Regions from separate parts of the Homo sapiens genome. Here all the other regions are linked to region 1. The links are contacts of gene promoters, found by promoter capture Hi-C in blood cells and fetal thymus (Javierre and others, 2016). All regions are on one chromosome and are shown on one strand. The core of a region is centred on a gene start or on the middle of the fragment in contact, and the rest is flanking DNA. Distances in the headings are between cores, read along the strand shown.

What was found. Contacts are between HindIII fragments. The CHiCAGO score rates a contact against its expected background, and 5 or more counts as called.
Region 2: a contact is called between the fragment with the promoter of RFC1 here and the fragment with the promoter of PDS5A in region 1, in 3 of 17 cell types (fetal thymus, total CD8 T cells and erythroblasts). The highest score is 8.2, in fetal thymus.
Region 3: a fragment that was not itself captured here is called in contact with the fragment with the promoter of PDS5A in region 1 in 13 of 17 cell types (fetal thymus, naive CD4 T cells, total CD8 T cells and 10 more); the score reaches 22.2 in fetal thymus.

What each region holds. Positions count from the first base shown.
Region 1 is chr4:39,976,417-39,979,372 of GRCh38, reverse strand. It overlaps PDS5A (PDS5 cohesin associated factor A), which reads left to right and starts at 1,462. Exons shown (of 33, transcript NM_001100399.2): 1 at 1,462-1,916; 2 at 2,756-2,933. The coding sequence starts at 2,796. RefSeq lists silencers at 1,238-1,877, 1,928-2,677 and an enhancer at 2,215-2,956. The HindIII fragment of the contact is 4,779 bases long and covers 1-2,956 here.
Region 2 is chr4:39,364,978-39,367,933 of GRCh38, reverse strand. It overlaps RFC1 (replication factor C subunit 1), which reads left to right and starts at 1,572. Exons shown (of 25, transcript NM_002913.5): 1 at 1,572-1,695. The coding sequence starts at 1,693. RefSeq lists an enhancer at 1,531-1,650. The HindIII fragment of the contact is 1,173 bases long and covers 908-2,080 here.
Region 3 is chr4:39,455,375-39,458,330 of GRCh38, reverse strand. RPL9 (ribosomal protein L9) reads left to right here. Exons shown (of 8, transcript NM_000661.5): 3 at 22-137; 4 at 650-745; 5 at 1,793-1,925. Among named protein-coding and RNA genes, the nearest start is that of RPL9, 2.1 kb to the left of the region's middle. RefSeq lists an enhancer at 1-408. The HindIII fragment of the contact is 2,057 bases long and covers 490-2,546 here.

The sequences.
Region 1 (2,956 bases), core at 213-2,712:
CAGTGAGCCGATATCACGCCACTGCACTCCAGCCTGGGTGACAGAGTAAGATTCCGTCTCAAAAGAAAAAAATAAATATCAAAAGTGACAGGGAGAGCCTAAAAAGAGAGCAGCTTTTGGTCCACTTAATAGTTTGGATGAGGACACTTTTAAATGGATTCTGCCTGGTACTGTAAATGCCCAAGAACAAAGCATTGACTTTTGGGCAGAGTTCTAGCAAATCAGCAACTGTGGAGTGTCAGATTCGCAATGACTGCTCTTGTGTAATACGTCAAAAACAAGTCAGTGAGCTGAAATGCAGTACCTTTACTATTTTTAAGTTGACGTTAAAGGATGTGGGAAAAAAATAGACCAATGGGTACCCATCAAGAATAATTTGAATAAACAATCGAATATCATTTTAAACTATGGTAGTGGTCAGTTTCAAGAGCTGAATGTGATTTCATATTATCGTATCCTTTTTTCAACTTTCTCTTCGGAAATTTTGTGTATGCTCTTGATTTTTTTTAAATAGGTAAGTGTATGTTCTTGCGTTAATTTGTTTCAATTACATACATTAAATTGCTCAAACACTGCTGCGTGCACTGTTTTTACCTGATAGTGGTTTTCCTTTGGATGACAGAAAACGTTAATGCTTGGTAGGTTTAAAACATTTTTAAAAAATGAGCTCTTCCTTATTTACAAGAATCACCCACCCAATTAATAAATGCTTATTTCTGGGTTCCACTCTCAGAGATTTTTATGTTTATGTATATTTTTATATTTTTTAGTGTTTTATTTTATATGTTATATTTTTATATGTTTTATGTTCATATATATTTTTACGTTAAAAAAACATATATTTTTATGTTTTTTAATCTTTGGAGTTGGAAACCTACGTTTTCAGCCAGTACCCAAAGTGATTGTGAGGCCTGGTGGCCCAAAGACCATACCTTGAGAACGACTCGACCCAATGCTATTTTCATGTTTTGCAGCTTTCAAAATATTAACTTCAGAAATCTAAGGAGGGTGGGCAACTCGGGTGGCTGTCAGAAGACCCGAGAGTGAGCCGCTCACGCTGCGCCCCATTGCACAACTTTCCTTGACTTTGCAGATCTCTCCCTGAGGAGGAAATCAGTTCATTTTCACCGAGCAATTAACTACCTCCCAACCAGTTTCGTCTATGTCCCTCAGGATGACCCCCAAAAGTCACCAGCTCATCGCCGCTGCGAAAGATAAAGCACTGTTTGCCCTGCGTGCCCTCGCAAGGCCGCGGGAACCTGGGCTCGCTTCCCGCCACCCGGGCTCCTCCTCCTCTCGCCCTCTCCGGTCGGGTCCTCCGGGAGGCGCCCCGCGCGGCAGGTATTGGCGCCAACCGGGTGGCGGCGCTGTCCGCCCTGCGCGCGGCCGCCTCGGGCCCGAGGGAGGCGGATGCACGGCCGGCGGAGGAAGGGGAGGGAGCGAGGAGCGCGCGCTGCTCTCGCGTGCTCTCGCGCCGCTCGCGTGACCGGCCGGTGTGTGCGCGAGGCCCCGGCTCCCGGGGCACGGACGGCCGGGCGCGCGCCTCTGCGAGGGGCGTCCGGGTCCGAGTCGGCGGTCCGGGCCGGCGCGAGGTGCGTGCGGGCGGGCCGCGGGGGTCCCGGACGGACACAAGCGCACACACTCCCGGAGGAGCCTTCGAGGCTGCTCTTCCTCGGCCAGACGGAGAGCGGCACTGTCTCCCCGCCCAGCGCTCACTCGCCCCGCGTCTCCCCCCGCGGCGGCTGCTCCTCCTCGGCACCGCCAGCCCCAGCGCCGCTCCCGGGCGGGCGGGCGGCGGCGGCGGCGGCGGCGGGACCCGCGGAGCCGCTTTGTGTGCAGCCCGACTAGGGGCGGCGGCGCAACCACCTGACAGAGGCCCGGGCGCTCGATGCACCTTCCGCCCGCATGAGGAGGAGGTAAAGGCGGCGGCGGCTCGGCTCCCGCCCTAGGCTGCTGGAGGGAGGGGACGGAAGGGGAGACTGGAGGGGGGGGCCGCGGGTCCGAGGCCCGGTGGGGCCGCCCGAGGGTGCCGGGAAGGCCTCGGCGGTGCCGGAGGCGCCAAGCGGCCGGGGGCCAGAGAAGCAGCTGGGGTCCCTCAGCCGAAGTTGAAGGAACAAAATGTGAAGTGCGGAGGCGCGTCAGCCGCTTCCTGGCGTGGGGCTGAGGGTGGAGGGCGGCTTGTTTTCCCCTCCCGCGGGGGTGAGGGAGCGGAACAGGGGAGGGGTGGCAGCGCGGCGGGGACTACCCCGGGTCCGAGGCTCGGCTGGGCAAGGGCGTTTTGTTCCCGGCAGCCGCCGCTGCGCGTGGGTCCGCTGGGTCCCTAGTTTTGCGGCCTAAGCCGAGCCCTATAGGCCTCGGGTCTGGTTTCCCGGAGGGGACTGGCCGGGCGGGACTGGGTGCTTCCCCACCGCCGAGCGGGGGCCTTGGGGTCCTTGCCGGCCTCCCGGGGCCGCCAAACTTCGGACCCTGGTGCTCGGGGGTGGATTTCATTGTGAAAGGCGGAATGGGAAACTCCTGGCGCTGTTCGGCGGCCACGGCGGCTGGTGCGGAGGAGCCCCGTGAGCCTGGGGCTGGCAGGGCCGGGTTGGCGGGGCCGGCGGGGTTCGATCCCTGGGAAAGAGCGGGTGGCGAGGCCGCTGCCGGGTCCCCGGCCTCTGGGGAGACAGGGCCTTTTCCAGATTAGAGAGATTTGAAATGAAAAAAGAGGTTACAAAGTCGCCCCTTTCCCGCTGAACTTTGGTTTTCTGACCGATAGAGGCCGGTAGAGGACTGTGAACCAAAAGTTGTCCCCCAGGATGGACTTCACCGCGCAGCCCAAGCCTGCCACTGCCCTCTGTGGCGTCGTGAGTGCCGACGGGAAGATCGCTTACCCTCCGGGGGTAAAAGAGATCACCGACAAGATCACCACGGACGAGATGATCAAACGCCTGAAGGTAAGTGTCTGGACGGATTTTGA
Region 2 (2,956 bases), core at 323-2,822, 610 kb after region 1:
CTGCCAGTCTTCTTAAAGCTTAGGTCTGGAGTTGGCATAGTATCACTTCCATTGTATTCTTTGATCAAATCAGTCATAGGCCAGTCCAGGTTCAAGGGAGGAGTTTCAAAGCATATGCAGTCATTTTAGATCTGGTATATTTCTGAGATAGAGTATTTTCATGTAAATAAATATTCCTAAAGAAAACAATCTCACAAAGAAGTTACAGTCTCCTGACTTAAGTCTCATTTAAACTCAAGGAAGGCTTCAAATGCCAAAAAAAAAAAAAAGCAAAAGTTAAGAGGAATGTAATATAAAAGACACGTACAACTTTTTATGTCTTATTTACTCATTTATTGATTTATAACACAATGAACATTATAAATTGGTGTAGGTCCTCTAAAATTATGGGCAAAAATTTGTGTGATATGTCTGCTAAGACAAAACCGAGGCACAGTAACTTGCCCTTGGTCACATAAATAGCAGGTGGTGGGGCTGGAGACCTAGCATCCTGGCTTCAGAGGGAACAGTGCAGTGAGGCCCTGTTAATAAGTAACAGTCTGTCTGTAAATTCGGGATAAGAGTAGTCAGTGTCATCATGGGGATAAAATGAGCTAGGCTAGTCCAGAGCTGCACGTACAACAATAGGCGTTTAATAAATACAAGCTGTCAATGCTCAGCCTCTGTTGTATTCCAGGCTGTTCTATCTTTCGCCATAGAAATGTTGGTGTCATAAAGCGCAAGACCCAACAGGGGGTGGATGGGTGAGAATTTCAAAAGTGTAGCTAGAGCCAAAGCTGGAGATACTGCTTTCTCCATTGAACTCTTTATGGTCTAATCTTTCTCTTGAAATCGTACGCAAATGTTTCATTGTATTCCGTGATTCAATTGCTAATCTATTCATATACAACTGGTTTACCCCAAAGCTTTCGGTATCTTTTCTTTTTTTTGAGGCGGAGTTTCGCTCTGTCGCCCAGGCTAAAGGGCAGTAGCTCGATCTCGGCTCACTGCACCACTGCCTCCTGGGTTCAAGCAATTCTCCTGTCTCAGTCTCCCGAGTAGCTGGGACTACAGGCACACGTCACCACCCCCTGGCTAATTTTTGTATTTTTAGTAGAGACGGGGTTTCACCACATTGGTCAGGTGGTCTCGAACTCCTGACCTCAGGTGACCCACCCGCCTCGGCCTCCCAAAGTGCTGGGATTAGAGGGGTGAGCCACCGCGTCCGGCCTCTTGATGAAACCTTATTACAGAATAGATATTTATACATAATATGTAAAACGCACAGCTAAAACATTTATCTTACTAAAGTTGGTAGTAAAAACTTTTCAAAGTTACTATAGGGAAGTGCATTGTCCAGACGTGTAACCGGGAGGTACTTGGGTACCCCGCCTGCCAAGGAAACCAATATCGGATCCCCCTACTTTAGCGCCCCCGCCAAAAACCGAGCTCACACCAAAGCACCGTGGTTCCTCTCGATGTCAGCGGCCCGCCTGCCCTCGGGGCAGCACCTGGGCAGGCGTCGCACCTCCCGCCTCTGGGCGGGACGGAAGCAAAGCTCGCGCCTCCTGACGTCATCACCGCGCGCCACTGTCTTCGCCTTCTTGCACTTCGCGGGAGAAGTTGTTGGCGCGAATGGATCCTGAGCCTCGATAACAGATTCCTCAACCGGCCCACCCGCCAGCCAGCCAGCGCCTTCATCCTGGGGCTGCGATGGTGAGCCGCTGGGGGAGGCCGTGCGGCTCGGGGTCTGGGGGGGCTTTGCAGGCCTGGTGTGGACCGGGCACTCCTGGTATGCAGGGTGGGGGAGGATGGCGGTGGGTGGTTCCGGAGGCTAGCAAAGGCAGAGAAGGGGCCGCACACCGGGCACTGGACGCAAAACTTTCATTGCATCGCGGGCTCTGGCTCTGGGCGGCAGCCAGCGCGCAGGGATTTTGTTGCTACGTGTACTTGCACTTTCCCCCCGCCCCCCACTCTTGGGGGAAGGGAGAAAGGAAGAGAGGAAGGATGGTGGTTTTGGGACGCATTGGTAAAGTTATTTTCTTGTTCGGCGTTGCCCGAACCTCAGTTTGAGTACTGCCTAAAGCGTGGATTTCAAGCTTTGGGTCACGAGGGAGAAGAATGTAACAAACTTTTCTTTCTTAGGGAATATGTTGTGTAGGGCCTTAAACTTTTATCATTAACAGCTCAGCTCGTCTCATCTCCGCTCGTCATTAACGATCACCTGAGCGGTGTTGAGACCGAGGGCATGGAGAGGATATTTTATTTTGTTTAGATGAGTTCATAGGAGTCAAAAGGATAACATGGCTTACTAGGAAAAAGAAGTACAGCGAATAGAAACAGATGCAAGACATTTGACAGCTGTCATCCTCTTACCACCTGATGTTTAAAATCTGAAAAAAACCCAAGCCTCACTGCATAATTCTGGATAAAATGTTCAAACAAATTGAAAGTGAAATGATTATGCAGCCAGCAAAGCAGACATTCCTGATGGTATGGCAATGGATATGGCTCTGTGTTTGAAATATTTTTAAAGGACCATTTAAAATGTTCATTAAGCTAGAAGATACTTAACAATCCGATATAATTTTTTTCAATCATTGGTCAACGTGTCACAGTGACAACATTCTGGGGGGGGGCGGTGAAAATTTTATGCCACACTGGGAAACGTTGCAGGCCTTTGTGTTTCTTCTCAAAAAAGGGCAACAGTAATGATAGTAGCTACCTTGTACCAAGCATCTTCTTTAGGTCAATATGTGAACTGTTGGTTTTCCATGGTTTTTTTTTTTTTTTTTTTTTTTCATTTCAACCCACATCGATGCAGTTTTACAGATGGTGCAAGCACCTTTTTGGAATTTAAACAGTGTATCATATAACTAGTAGGTGGTTGAACTAGAATTAGAATCTTGGTGTTTCTGACCACCATGTTATACTACTTCCCTATAATGATCATCATTACATTTTGGAGGCCAAAGCA
Region 3 (2,956 bases), core at 269-2,768, 520 kb after region 1:
CGAGTGTGTTCTCTCTTCTAGTCGACATTACTCTGAAGGGACGCACAGTTATCGTGAAGGGCCCCAGAGGAACCCTGCGGAGGGACTTCAATCACATCAATGTAGAACTCAGCCTTCTTGGAAAGAAAAAAAAGAGGGTGAGGGTTTTTCTTCTGATAATTCAGTTGCTCGTTGGAAGGTGGTTTATAACAGCATCACATTTGGTTGCTTTAACAATTTTCGAATTAAGGTTCAGTGCTTCAGCTTTAAATGTTGCTGTCCAGAATACCAGCCTGTTCAGTGAAATTGAAAAACCAGATTCTGAACACAGCCAATTATATAAAGCTCAAATGTAATAGTGGTCATCAGTGACACGTCTTAATGGTGTTAGAAGTTTGGTTTATTTTCCTAGTGATTGCTTTGTAAAAATCACAGGAACCGGCAGTAGGTCATTTAAACCTGATGATTTAATTTTCCAGAAGGGAAGTTTGTTGCAACTTCTACAAAGCTTAACTGTTGGGAGGTTTTATAGGTGGTTGGATTTTTCCAGTTGAAAACCATGTGCTTTGATAAGGGTTAATTCTAGAATCTTAAAGTAATTCGGTAAGTGGTCTGTTGTCTTTTAAGCCTGCATATTTCTGGAAAGAATACATTTTTTGTTCTGTTACAGCTCCGGGTTGACAAATGGTGGGGTAACAGAAAGGAACTGGCTACCGTTCGGACTATTTGTAGTCATGTACAGAACATGATCAAGGGTGTTACACTGGTAAGCAGATGTATCAGACTTCCTTGTTTTGGAAAGGGAGGTTTCTCAAACCTGTGCTTTATACAGCGTAAGTGTCTCTTTCAGAGAATGGGTCATGTATTTTATTTGGTGTAATACGCAAGAACTTGGCAAAAATAGGCATCTGTGGGTCTTTAAGCGATAGAGCTGAGAGCAAAGACCAGATGGGTACAACATGTTTGTTTTTTTCTGTTGTTGGGTTTTTTTTTTTTTTAATCAAGGCTGGGGTCTCGCTATTTTGTCCAGGCTGAGCTCAAGTGATCCTCCCACCTTGGCCTCCCATAGTACTGGGATTGCAGGCATGAGCCACCATGCATGGCTAGATGGGTACAACTTTTAAAAAGTAGGCTAATGATGAATTTTCATACCTTCCGAATTCTTTAAGATAGGAAATCTACAGTTGCAGTACTAGTTGGTAGTCACATCTCACCATCAGGACCCCTTGTTGGGATAGAAAAAGATGTAGTTTCTGAGTTTTCTGTCTGCTGCCATAATGTATGTCATTATTCTTTCCAACCCACCGTCTCTCCCCTCAAGATAAAAAGTTCATGCTGAAATGGTTTTCTTTGCATTATACCTTCTAGAATGCACCTGATAATGGCACCCTGTACATCTATTATAAATCTGTTAAGATTCCCCCATCTACCCTTGCTCTTAGCCTTAAGTTCCTTGAAGGCAGGGGGCCTGCCTTTGGCTTGGTGGTCTCAATTCCTGCCATGTGCTGTACCTTAGTAACTCAGTAAATGTTAGTCTAATGTCTAAGATCAGGGCTTTGGGGTTCTCATTAAAAGAAGGCAGCATTGTTCATTGAGGGCATAAGAGCTAGTGAAATAAAGCCTCCGCAAGGAGCTTTACAGTCCACTGAATAGACAGAACAATGTTTATAAGGCTTGGTTCAGGTGACAGTTATTAGAAAATCTTGGCAGTGAGTGTTACGTTTTAAAATAAGTATAAGCATCTTAGAAAATTTTAAAACTATTAAAAATATTCCTCAGCATTGCTAATAGCTTGCTTATTTATTTAACATAGGGCTTCCGTTACAAGATGAGGTCTGTGTATGCTCACTTCCCCATCAACGTTGTTATCCAGGAGAATGGGTCTCTTGTTGAAATCCGAAATTTCTTGGGTGAAAAATATATCCGCAGGGTTCGGATGAGACCAGGTATGTGCATACCCTCAGACAGAATTAAGAAATTTTTCCTTCATATTTTTTTCCTCCTTTTCCACTCCCAACTTCCATACTTTAGTTGGCTGTTGTTTTGTGTTTGTGCTGAGTAAAACCAGATTTGTTTTAGAATTATCTCTTGATTACACTTAAACTGTTGGTGCTACTTAAGGGTTTATATCATTATGTCGATTACAATTTCAGAAAGTTGATACATTGGAGTAGCTTGCAGTGGTGGTTGTATTTAACTTGGCAAATGAAATCTTTTAAAAAGACTTTAAATTTACAAAAGGTGTATATAATGGTGTGTATTTATGGAGCACAATGTGATGTTTCAACACATGCATATTCTGTGGAATGACTAAATCAGGCTAATTAACACATCCATCACTCCATTTATTTCTTCGTGGTAAGAACCTTTAAAATCTAAAGAGAAAACTACATGAGTAGTGGTTAATAGCCTAGCGTAAATTTCAGCTCTCACTGTCCACCTTGGGCATGTCATCTCTCTGCAGCTTAAAATTGCAAACATCTTTGATTAAATGAGTTAAAGTTGAAAAACAACAATGCATGCGTAATACATAGTAAACACAGTAGCTTTAAAAAAAATTTAAAGCTTAGTGCTTTTTATTTGAGGCAGGGTCTTGCTCTGTTGCCCAGGCTGGAGTACGGTGGCGTGATCTCAGCTCATTGCATCCTCCACCTTCGTGCTCAGGTGTTTCTCCCACCTCAGCCTCCCCACTAGCTGGCACTGCAGGTGCCTGCCACCACATCCAGCTGATTTTTGATTTTTTGTAGAGACTGTTTCGCCACGTTGCCCAGGCTGATTTCAAGGAATGCTATGGTGCCTGGCCCCAGCTAATTTTTAAGTTTTTTGTAGAGGCAGGGTCTTGCTATGTTGTCCAGGCTGGTCTTGAACTTGCAGGCTCAAGCAGTTCTTCCCCCTTGGCCTCTTAAAACATACCTGGCTCGGCCTCTTGATGCATTTTGATTCCATTGGGGTGGGGAGGGGTGGGAAGAAGGGAGAT